Regions from separate parts of the Homo sapiens genome. Here region 1 is linked to region 2. Evidence: promoter capture Hi-C in 16 types of primary human blood cells and fetal thymus (Javierre and others, 2016). All regions are on one chromosome and are shown on one strand. The core of a region is centred on a gene start or on the middle of the fragment in contact, and the rest is flanking DNA. Distances in the headings are between cores, read along the strand shown. Region 1 overlaps WDR75 (WD repeat domain 75). Region 2 holds the start of ITGAV (integrin subunit alpha V).

Evidence for each region. The method cuts DNA at HindIII sites, captures the fragments that hold promoters and counts their contacts. A CHiCAGO score of 5 or more calls a contact.
Region 1: a fragment that was not itself captured here is called in contact with the fragment with the promoter of ITGAV in region 2 in 1 of 17 cell types (non-activated CD4 T cells); the score reaches 5.9 in non-activated CD4 T cells.

The regions. Positions count from the first base shown.
Region 1 is chr2:189,450,646-189,454,897 of GRCh38, reverse strand. WDR75 (WD repeat domain 75) reads right to left here. Exons shown (of 21, transcript NM_032168.3): 3 at 3,930-3,995; 4 at 3,003-3,093. Among named protein-coding and RNA genes, the nearest start is that of WDR75, 11 kb to the right of the region's middle. The HindIII fragment of the contact is 5,723 bases long and covers 1-4,252 here.
Region 2 is chr2:186,587,222-186,591,305 of GRCh38, reverse strand. It overlaps ITGAV (integrin subunit alpha V), which reads right to left and starts at 1,250. Exons shown (of 30, transcript NM_002210.5): 1 at 783-1,250. The coding sequence starts at 967. LOC124906105 (a long non-coding RNA gene) reads left to right here and starts at 1,410. Exons shown (of 2, transcript XR_007087465.1): 1 at 1,410-2,316. RefSeq lists an enhancer at 768-827 and a silencer at 958-1,187. The HindIII fragment of the contact is 2,158 bases long and covers 1-1,659 here.

The DNA of each region.
Region 1 (4,252 bases), core at 1,223-3,722, 2.9 Mb before region 2:
TGAACAAAACATACCTTAAAGGTGGACTCTTTGTTTGAATGAGCAAGTTTTAAATGGAAGTCTAATTCCATAACTCATGTACATAAATGCCCCAAATATATAGAAATACAAATCTGGGAGGCCGAGGCGGGTGGATCACAAGGTCAGGAGATCGAGACCATCCTGGCTAACACGGTGAAACCCTGTCTCTACTAAAAAAATACAAAAAATTAGCCAGGCGTGGTGGTGGGCGCCTGTAGTCCCAGCTACTCGGGAGGCTGAGGCAGGAGAATGGCGTGAACCCGGGAGGTGGAGGTTGCAGTGAGCCGAGACTGTGCCACTGCACTCCAGCCTGGGCGACAGAGCAAGACTCTGTTTCAAAAAAAAAAACAAAAGAAATACAAATCAACTTGTATCTTACTGGTGCATTTTACATTCCAAAGTATTAAGCTGGGTTTTAAAATGGAAAAAGAATATGAATGTTGGTCAGCTGAGTAGCTAAAAGCAACAAATCATCTGAGAGTTTTCAGAAATGCTATGATGGGCCTGCCATAATATTAGGGTAAAATCTCCTTTTCTGTAATACTGACACATTCTTCTCTTTATATCCCTTTAAAAAATATCTCCTTAAGGGTATTCTTTTTACTCAGAGTAAAAGCAAAAGTCCTTCCAATAGCCTACGATGCTAAATATAATCTATTCTCCACTGGCTCACTTCCACCGGCCTCCCTTCTCCAACACAGCTGCACAGCCCTTCTTCCTCTCATTTAGTATTTACTCCTCCTATGTTGCTCATTTCCCTCCCCTGCTTTATTTTTCTCTAGACCACCTTTCATCTTACTGTATCATATTAACTAATCCAGTCAGTTTACTACTGGGACTTAGAAGTGTTTTGTTTTGTGCAATCATAACAGTATTTAGCACACGGTGGGTGCTCAATTAGGTGTTGAATGACTATATGACACATAGTCAAGAAATAATACCATCAAAAATAACACGTAAATGAAAGGCTAATTTGTTTTTAAACCAGAGAAGTAACTGCAACATGATTTATTCAATTTTCTATCAGAGAGTCTGGTTTTGGGCTGTGGAACATAGATAACACAAAAAGGGTACACATATATGTATAATATATGTTTTTGTATTTGAGTATGAGAGGCCAGTGGTGCAGTAAGCAAGCCAGCTAGCACAGGGGATCTTTTCAAGCCTGACTGACATTTTTATGTAGCAGCTATCCAGATTTTCTTATGCTGGGTGCCCATTATATGCCAAGTACTGAAGATTAATAATAGATCTCATTATGAGAAGAATTTAGATTACAACACAAGATCTTTACTTTAGATCAGTCGTTTTCCATCCTGTCTTGCATATTAGACACAACTGAGAAATTTTTCAGTAAACTAGGCCCCAGCACACAGAATCTTATTAAGTTCTTCATGTGATTCTTATGTGTAGTCAGTGTTTAGAATCATGGGTAAAAAGTTTTGCTAGCAGCTATTGGCAACTACTTTTCCAAGTGAGGAATCATGGAGTGAGTACAGGAAGTTGTTACCAAATACGAGTGATGAGCAGAATCACCTGGGACGATATTAAAAATGCAGATTCCTAAAGTACATCCCAAACCTAGTGATCAACCACCTGTCAGGAAGATTAGGAACCTGAATTTTTCGTAAACATGTGAACTGTTATCAGAAATCCACGTATTCAACATACGAAACCGAACTTAAATATCAAAAAGAGTGCTATGTTTGAAGCAGTCATCTGGCAAGATGACTTAATTATTTTTAAGAACGTTGCCATCTCCAGAACATTTTTTGAAATGTCCTTTGGAGGTGGTTTAGTGATCCTCCCACCTCAGCCTCCTGAGTAGCTAGGACTGTAGCCACCACATCTAACTTACTTTTCTTTCTTTTTGTCTTTTTAGAGACAGGGCCATGGTATATGTTGCCTAGGCTGGTCTCAAACTCCTGACCTCAAGCAATCCTCCTGCCCTGGCCTCCCAAAGCACTGGGATTACAGTTGTCAGCCATCATGCCCGGCCCCACTATCATCTTAAAGCTGCTTCATATTCTTCATTCTGAACACAACTGTATTTTATGGAGGACACCATAGCATACAGTGGCATTCCTGAATGTGGGGATCAGAAAATTTCTATAGATGTGTCCTCATGTCAGTGTTCTGTTTTATCAAACTCTATGGTAAGGGACAATTATTTCTAATCACTGACAATATTCTAGGAATTCCTAAAATGCTGATGCACAGCAGTTTCAATGGACCAATGTTCTAAAGACAGTGAAAATGTAATTAATAATAACTTAGTCACATTATTGGTTCTTAATATCAACCAATTTTTTTTTTTTTTTTGGAGACAGAGTCTCACCCAGGCTGGAGTGCAGTGGCGCCATCTCAGCTCACTGCAAGCTCCACCTTCTGGATTCACGCCATTCTCCTGCCTCAGCCTCCCAAGTAGCTGGGACTACAGGTGCCTGCCACCATACCCGGCTAATTTTTTGTATTTTGTTTAGTAGAGACGGGGTTTCACCGTGTTAGCCAGGATGGTCTAGATCTCCTGACCTTGTGATCTGCCCACCTCGGCCTCCCATAGTGCTGGGATTACAGGCGTGAGCCACTGCGCCTGGCCAATATCAACCAATTTTCTATGCCATTTCCACCCTGACTTAAGAAAGTGAGAAGTGTTCAATGATAGATAAATGATAGTGATGCTTAATAACAGATTTAAGTTCAGTAGAAAGACAAAATTCTATCCACCTTTGTAAAGCAGATTTAAAATTTGAGGTCTGCAATCTACTATTACAACCACATAAAAAATAATCCCTCCCTCACTGCATATTTCAGAATTCATACAAACCATCTCCAAATGAGCACAATAATGACAAAAGCAATTTAAATGCCCATTCTAAAAACTGTTGGCTTCAGATTAAAACCAAAATGTTAAATTTTGAGGAACTGTAAAATGTAAAGAGCCACTCAATGCCATATATAGTAAGTTAATTATACCATACCTGGTTTTTCTTTATTCACTATAACAAAGACAGAATCCTCAGCTTGGGCAAGAGTAAAGAGGGCATGAAGTTTACATCCAACTATGAAAGTCTGAAAGATAAAGAGCACCATAGTGTTTACTGTCTGTTCCCTCCAGTGGAACATAAGATCCATCAAGGCAGGGGTTTTTATGTATTTTGCTCATTGCTGTATTCCCAACATAAGGAGAGTACCTGGCCTACAGAAGACAACTAATACATATTTGTTAAATACTCTTTCGAGTTTCCTACATATAGATCTGAAATGGTATTGTACTGAATGTATCATAATTTTAACTGACATCAAGGTCATATTTAACTTTTTTCCTACCATAAACAATGCTATAAGGACTTTGTGTACAGGCCATTATTCCGAGGTGAGACTGCTGTAGCAAAACGTGTTTATTGATTTTCAGTTTTAACTCTCATTGGGTAAAAAAGTGCCTGTTTCTCCATACTTTACCTATCACTAGATTTTTTTTCAATCTACAATTTGGCTAAATTTATGAGGGGAAATATTGTGTCATTTGTTTTAATTTAGATTTCTTTATTAATGAGTTTAAGCATCTCTTCATATTTATTGACTATTTGTATTTCTTTTCTGTGAATTTACATATTCCTACTTTATGCCAATTTCTTCTACCAGGCTATTAGTTTTTCCTTATTGGTTTTTGGGAAGATTTTTGTATATTTGGAATAATATCTTTTGTAAATATCTTCTTCCAGCTTTACCTTGTCTTTTATAAGTGGAAAATTTTTATATAGTCAAATTAATTTTTTTGATGTTATTTTGTAACTTGTTTAGGAAGTCTATTTAAATATTTGGCCTTATAGAAACAGTACATCTACCATTAAATTACATTGCCTTTTTTTATTCACATAACGAAAAGTAAAGATCAATCCACATACCTTTATTAAGATGCCATCTATATAGTCCCACAGTTTAATTGTGCCATCAAGGGAACAAGAATACAGCTAAAAGGGTAAAACAATACAAAATTGATTTAAAAAAAAGAAATTCATCAAGATATCAAATGAATAATTAAATGTTGATCAGGGGCATTTTCTATTCATTAATTCACTGTTAACCTTAAAGAGGTAGAGTCATTTATTTATATTGCTTCTGCAAAACAATCTTTTCACAGCTTTCTGCAAGAAGCAGATCCATCCATTTCAAGTTTTAACTAAAAGAGAGAGGAAAAAAGCCAACTTTCTGTCTTGAAGAGGGAGAT
Region 2 (4,084 bases), core at 1-2,500:
GACGGCCCTTGCAACGCGGAACGTTGGCAACTTGAAAACATAACTGAATTATTAAATACTGCAGTATTCAAATGACCTGCAGCGAGTGAAAACTCAGCAAACACCCTTGTTCCTTCTGAACAATGACCTAAATAGTGAATCACTATAAAAAGAACAGATGACACATTCAATTCATCTGTTCAACCTCAAATGTGCAAATGTCTGACAGTCCCAGAGATAAGACACAATGAATTCAATAGGACAGTATGGTCATTTTAAGTCATCAGAATGTCTGCAAAAGGAGTAAGGAGAAACAGAATCAGACAGAGGCGGAAAGAGTGGGGGAGGGCTTGTTTAGGGAGACTGAAAAGGACGGGCGTTAAGCCTGTAAAGCAGAAAAAGGCTACCAAGAAGCCTAACTGGTAGAGGAGAAAAAGAAGTTCGGGGATGATATTGACCAAATCCTCGACACTGGCACAGGAGGCGGGGAGTCCGGCAAGACCAGCCTTTGTTGATTTCCCACTTTCCCCGATTTTTAAGCACAGGTCTGCTTCAAAGCTCTCCCGCTGCCCCTAACCAATTTTAAGAGGTGAGAAGCGGGGTGTAACTGGGTGATGGGTACCAAAGGGAGTTCATTTCCCCAAATATTTCCTCCACCCAGGATATAAACCACTCTGAGAGGTAGGATGGGTGAGACAGACAGACGCCGGGATCTCTCGGAAATCAATCCCAATGGAGAAACGCTGGGTGGGTGCGCGCGGTGGGGGAGGGGGCCGGCTCCAGTTCCAAGTGCGGCCACTTACGAAGACGCGCTGGGCACGAAGAAATCCACGGCGAAGCCGAAGTAACTTCCCTCGGGGCCAGAGTACTCGGCAGGACTGTCCACGTCTAGGTTGAAGGCGCGGCACAGAGGTAGCAGGAGTCCCGAGAGAAGAAGCGGGAGGCCGCGGGGACCGAGGCGCAGCCGTCGCCGCGGCGGAAAAGCCATCGCCGAAGTGCGCGCGGGACGCCAAGCCGGGAGCGGTAGCCACCTCCCCCCGCCCCAGCGAGGCGCCCAGTGCCCGCGGCCCGCCGCCTGCGCGCGCCCAAACTTGCCGGCCGCTCTCTTCTCGGCTAGCCCGGGACAGCTCCGGGGCAGGCAAGAGGGCTGAGCTTCGGAGCGACCGCCAGGGACGAGGGGCGCAGAGCGCGCGGGGCGGGGACAGCAGCGCAGACGGTCCTTTGCTTCCCTCCGGCTCCGCCGCTCCACGCAGCGTCTGAGGCTGGGGACTGCCGGGGTGAGCGCCGCACCTCAGGCCTGAGAGCCGCGGCGGCACTGGGAGGAGACCTGGAAGGAGGAGGAGCCGGCCCGGGAGGCTGCTGTGGAGCTGGAGGAGGAAGTGGGGGAGGAGAGGCGCCCTTCTACAGGGGAGAGCTCAGCGTACTTCCGTGAGTGCAGTCGCCGCCTGTCCCGAGACCTGGGCGTCTGTGCAGGGGCCCCCAGCTCCTGAGCCTGGGTCAGCGGCAGCGCTCCTGGACGAAGGCCTCAGGCTGAGCACCTGAGGAGGCGTGGGGGCGGGGGCGGGGAGATACGGTCCAGCGTCCCAATCTACCCGCGTCCACGGGAGTAGCAAGGGCACCCACGTTCCCTTGTCCCGCCGGGAACTTCCGTGCGACTGTTGTTTAAAAATGAGGAAAGCTTTTTATCAGTTTCTCGTGTTTCTGCTGCTTAGCCTGGCAGGCTCTCACGAACGAAACCCTGTTAATTAATGGTCGTTAATTACACTCCATTCCACAAACACTGAACTTAATTACGGATTTCCAGAAAGCCAGCATAGCCTCTTGCAAGTGAGGTATGTAAAGCTTAACTTAGTAGTCAAAGAAAGGATTCGCAGGGCAAAGAATTGGCAGTGATCGTTTTAAATCAAGTCAGAATAATCGAAGCCTTATTCCCAGTTTGTTAGCTGCGGTTGTATGATTTAGAAACACTGATTTGTTGATTTAGGATGTTTGGATAGACATAATTTCAGAGCTGGAAGAAGGACCGCACACCGGTGAAATAAGGCCCCGCGTGCTTGTTTGCCACTGGTGTGTTTCATCAAGCCTTGACAACACTGGACTGAGAGAGAGGGCCTTGAGGACAGGAACCTTGACCTTTTTCTTAGTGTTCTTATTTCTAGCACCTTGCCAAGCAGATAGTAGTCGATCAATAAAATGTCCAATCAGTGAATGAATAGCAGACGAAATGAGCAAAGTGCCCAGAGAAGTGACTCTTCCATATTTCAAGTGTTTCATGTGCTACAGAATCTGTTGAACAAGGTGAAGTTTAAGTGCATTGTGTGGACTTACAACTTACAAGTAAGTACTGGAACAGTAATTTCTGTTTTCCCAAAGTAACTATTAAAACTCAATCATAATATACATTAATAACTATCAAATAATCCTGTGAAAGGATATGTATATAAATGAAAGTGAAATGCCTAATTCGAATTTGTAATATTTATTGGACCAGGTCCAGGTGCTCATGCTGGCAATCTCAGCACTTTGGGAGACTGAGGCAGGAGGATTGCTTGAGACCGGGAGTTCCAGGGGAACATAGGGAGACCTCATCTCTACAAAAATTTAAAAATTAGCTGGGAGTGTGGTGCATGCCTGTAGTCCCAGCTATGCCGGAGGCTAAGGCAGGTAGATAGATCGCTTAGGCTCAGGAGTTCCAGGTTATGATAAGTCATGAGCCTGCCACTGCACTCCAGCCTGAGTGACAGAACAAGACCCTGTGTTTAAAAAAAAAAAAGGCCGGGCGAGGTGGCTCATGCCTGTAGTCCTAGCACTTTGGGAGGCTGAGGCCGGCAAATTGCCTGAGCTCGGGAGTTCGAGACCAGCCTGGGCAACACAGTGAAATCCCGTCTCTACTAAAATACAAAAAATTAGCCGGGCGTGGCGGCATGCGCCTGCAGTCCCAGCTACTCAGGAGGCTGAGGCAGGAGAATTGCTTGAACCCGGAAGGCGGAGGCTGCAGTAAGCTGAGATGGTGCCACTGCACTCCAGCCTGGGCCACAGAGTGAGACTCCATCTCAAAAAAAAAATGCATTAAATATTTCCATTTTTAAATTTGACTAAAAGATATGCAGCAAAACCTTTGGCATGTTTTACAAGGCATGGTCTAGCATCTGCCTGAAAGAAATTACTGATTGAGAGAAGAAATCCTACACAAATCCTTACACATAAATGCAAATACAGCTTATTTCTCACCTTCTTTCCTAATACACCAAAGAGGCTATTGATATGTATGCATAAACCCAAAGGGTCTTTTATATCTTAAAAACATGACAACCAGTCTACCTGGAAATCCATCCAGGTAAGGAAGACAGAAGAGTTTAAACTCTGGCTAGATCCAGTAAGTCTCCCACTCCTCAACTTCTGATCGCAGGACAGGGGTCCGACAGACCAAGGTGGAGTGAAGAAATGTGAGAGGACCAGGGAAAAGAAGAAGCCCACGAAATGACAACACATGTACACCCACCAAAACTTGGGTGAACAACACACCCCCAAATAGGGCTACAACTTACTGAAAGCACTTACTGTTGAGCCATTCTTTATGAGTTTATTTTGAATGAGCAGTCTTGAAAATCAAGGAATTTGTTTTTTTTAAAAAAGCAAATAGTCCAGGCACTGTGGCTCATGCCTGTAATCCCAGCATTTTGGGAGGCCGAGGTGGGTGGATCACCTGAGGTCAGGAGTTCAAGACCAGCCTGGCCAACACAGTGAAACCCCGTCTCTACTAAAAATACAAAAATTGGCCGGGCGCAGTGGCTCACTCACACCTGTAATCCCAGCACTTTGGGAGTCCAAAGTGGGTGGATCACGATGTCAGGAGTTCAAGACCAGCCTGGCCAAGATGGTGAAAGCCTATCTCTACTAAAAATACAAAAATTAGCTGGGTGCAGTGGCAGGCACCTGTAATCCCAGCTACTTGGGAGGCTGAGGCAGGAGAATCACTTGAACCTGGGAAGCAGAGGTTTCAGTGAGCCAAGATCGTGCCACTGCACTTCAGCCTGGATGACAGAATGAGACTCCATCTCAAAAAAGAAAAAACAGTAGCCAGGCATGGTGGTGTGTGCCTGTA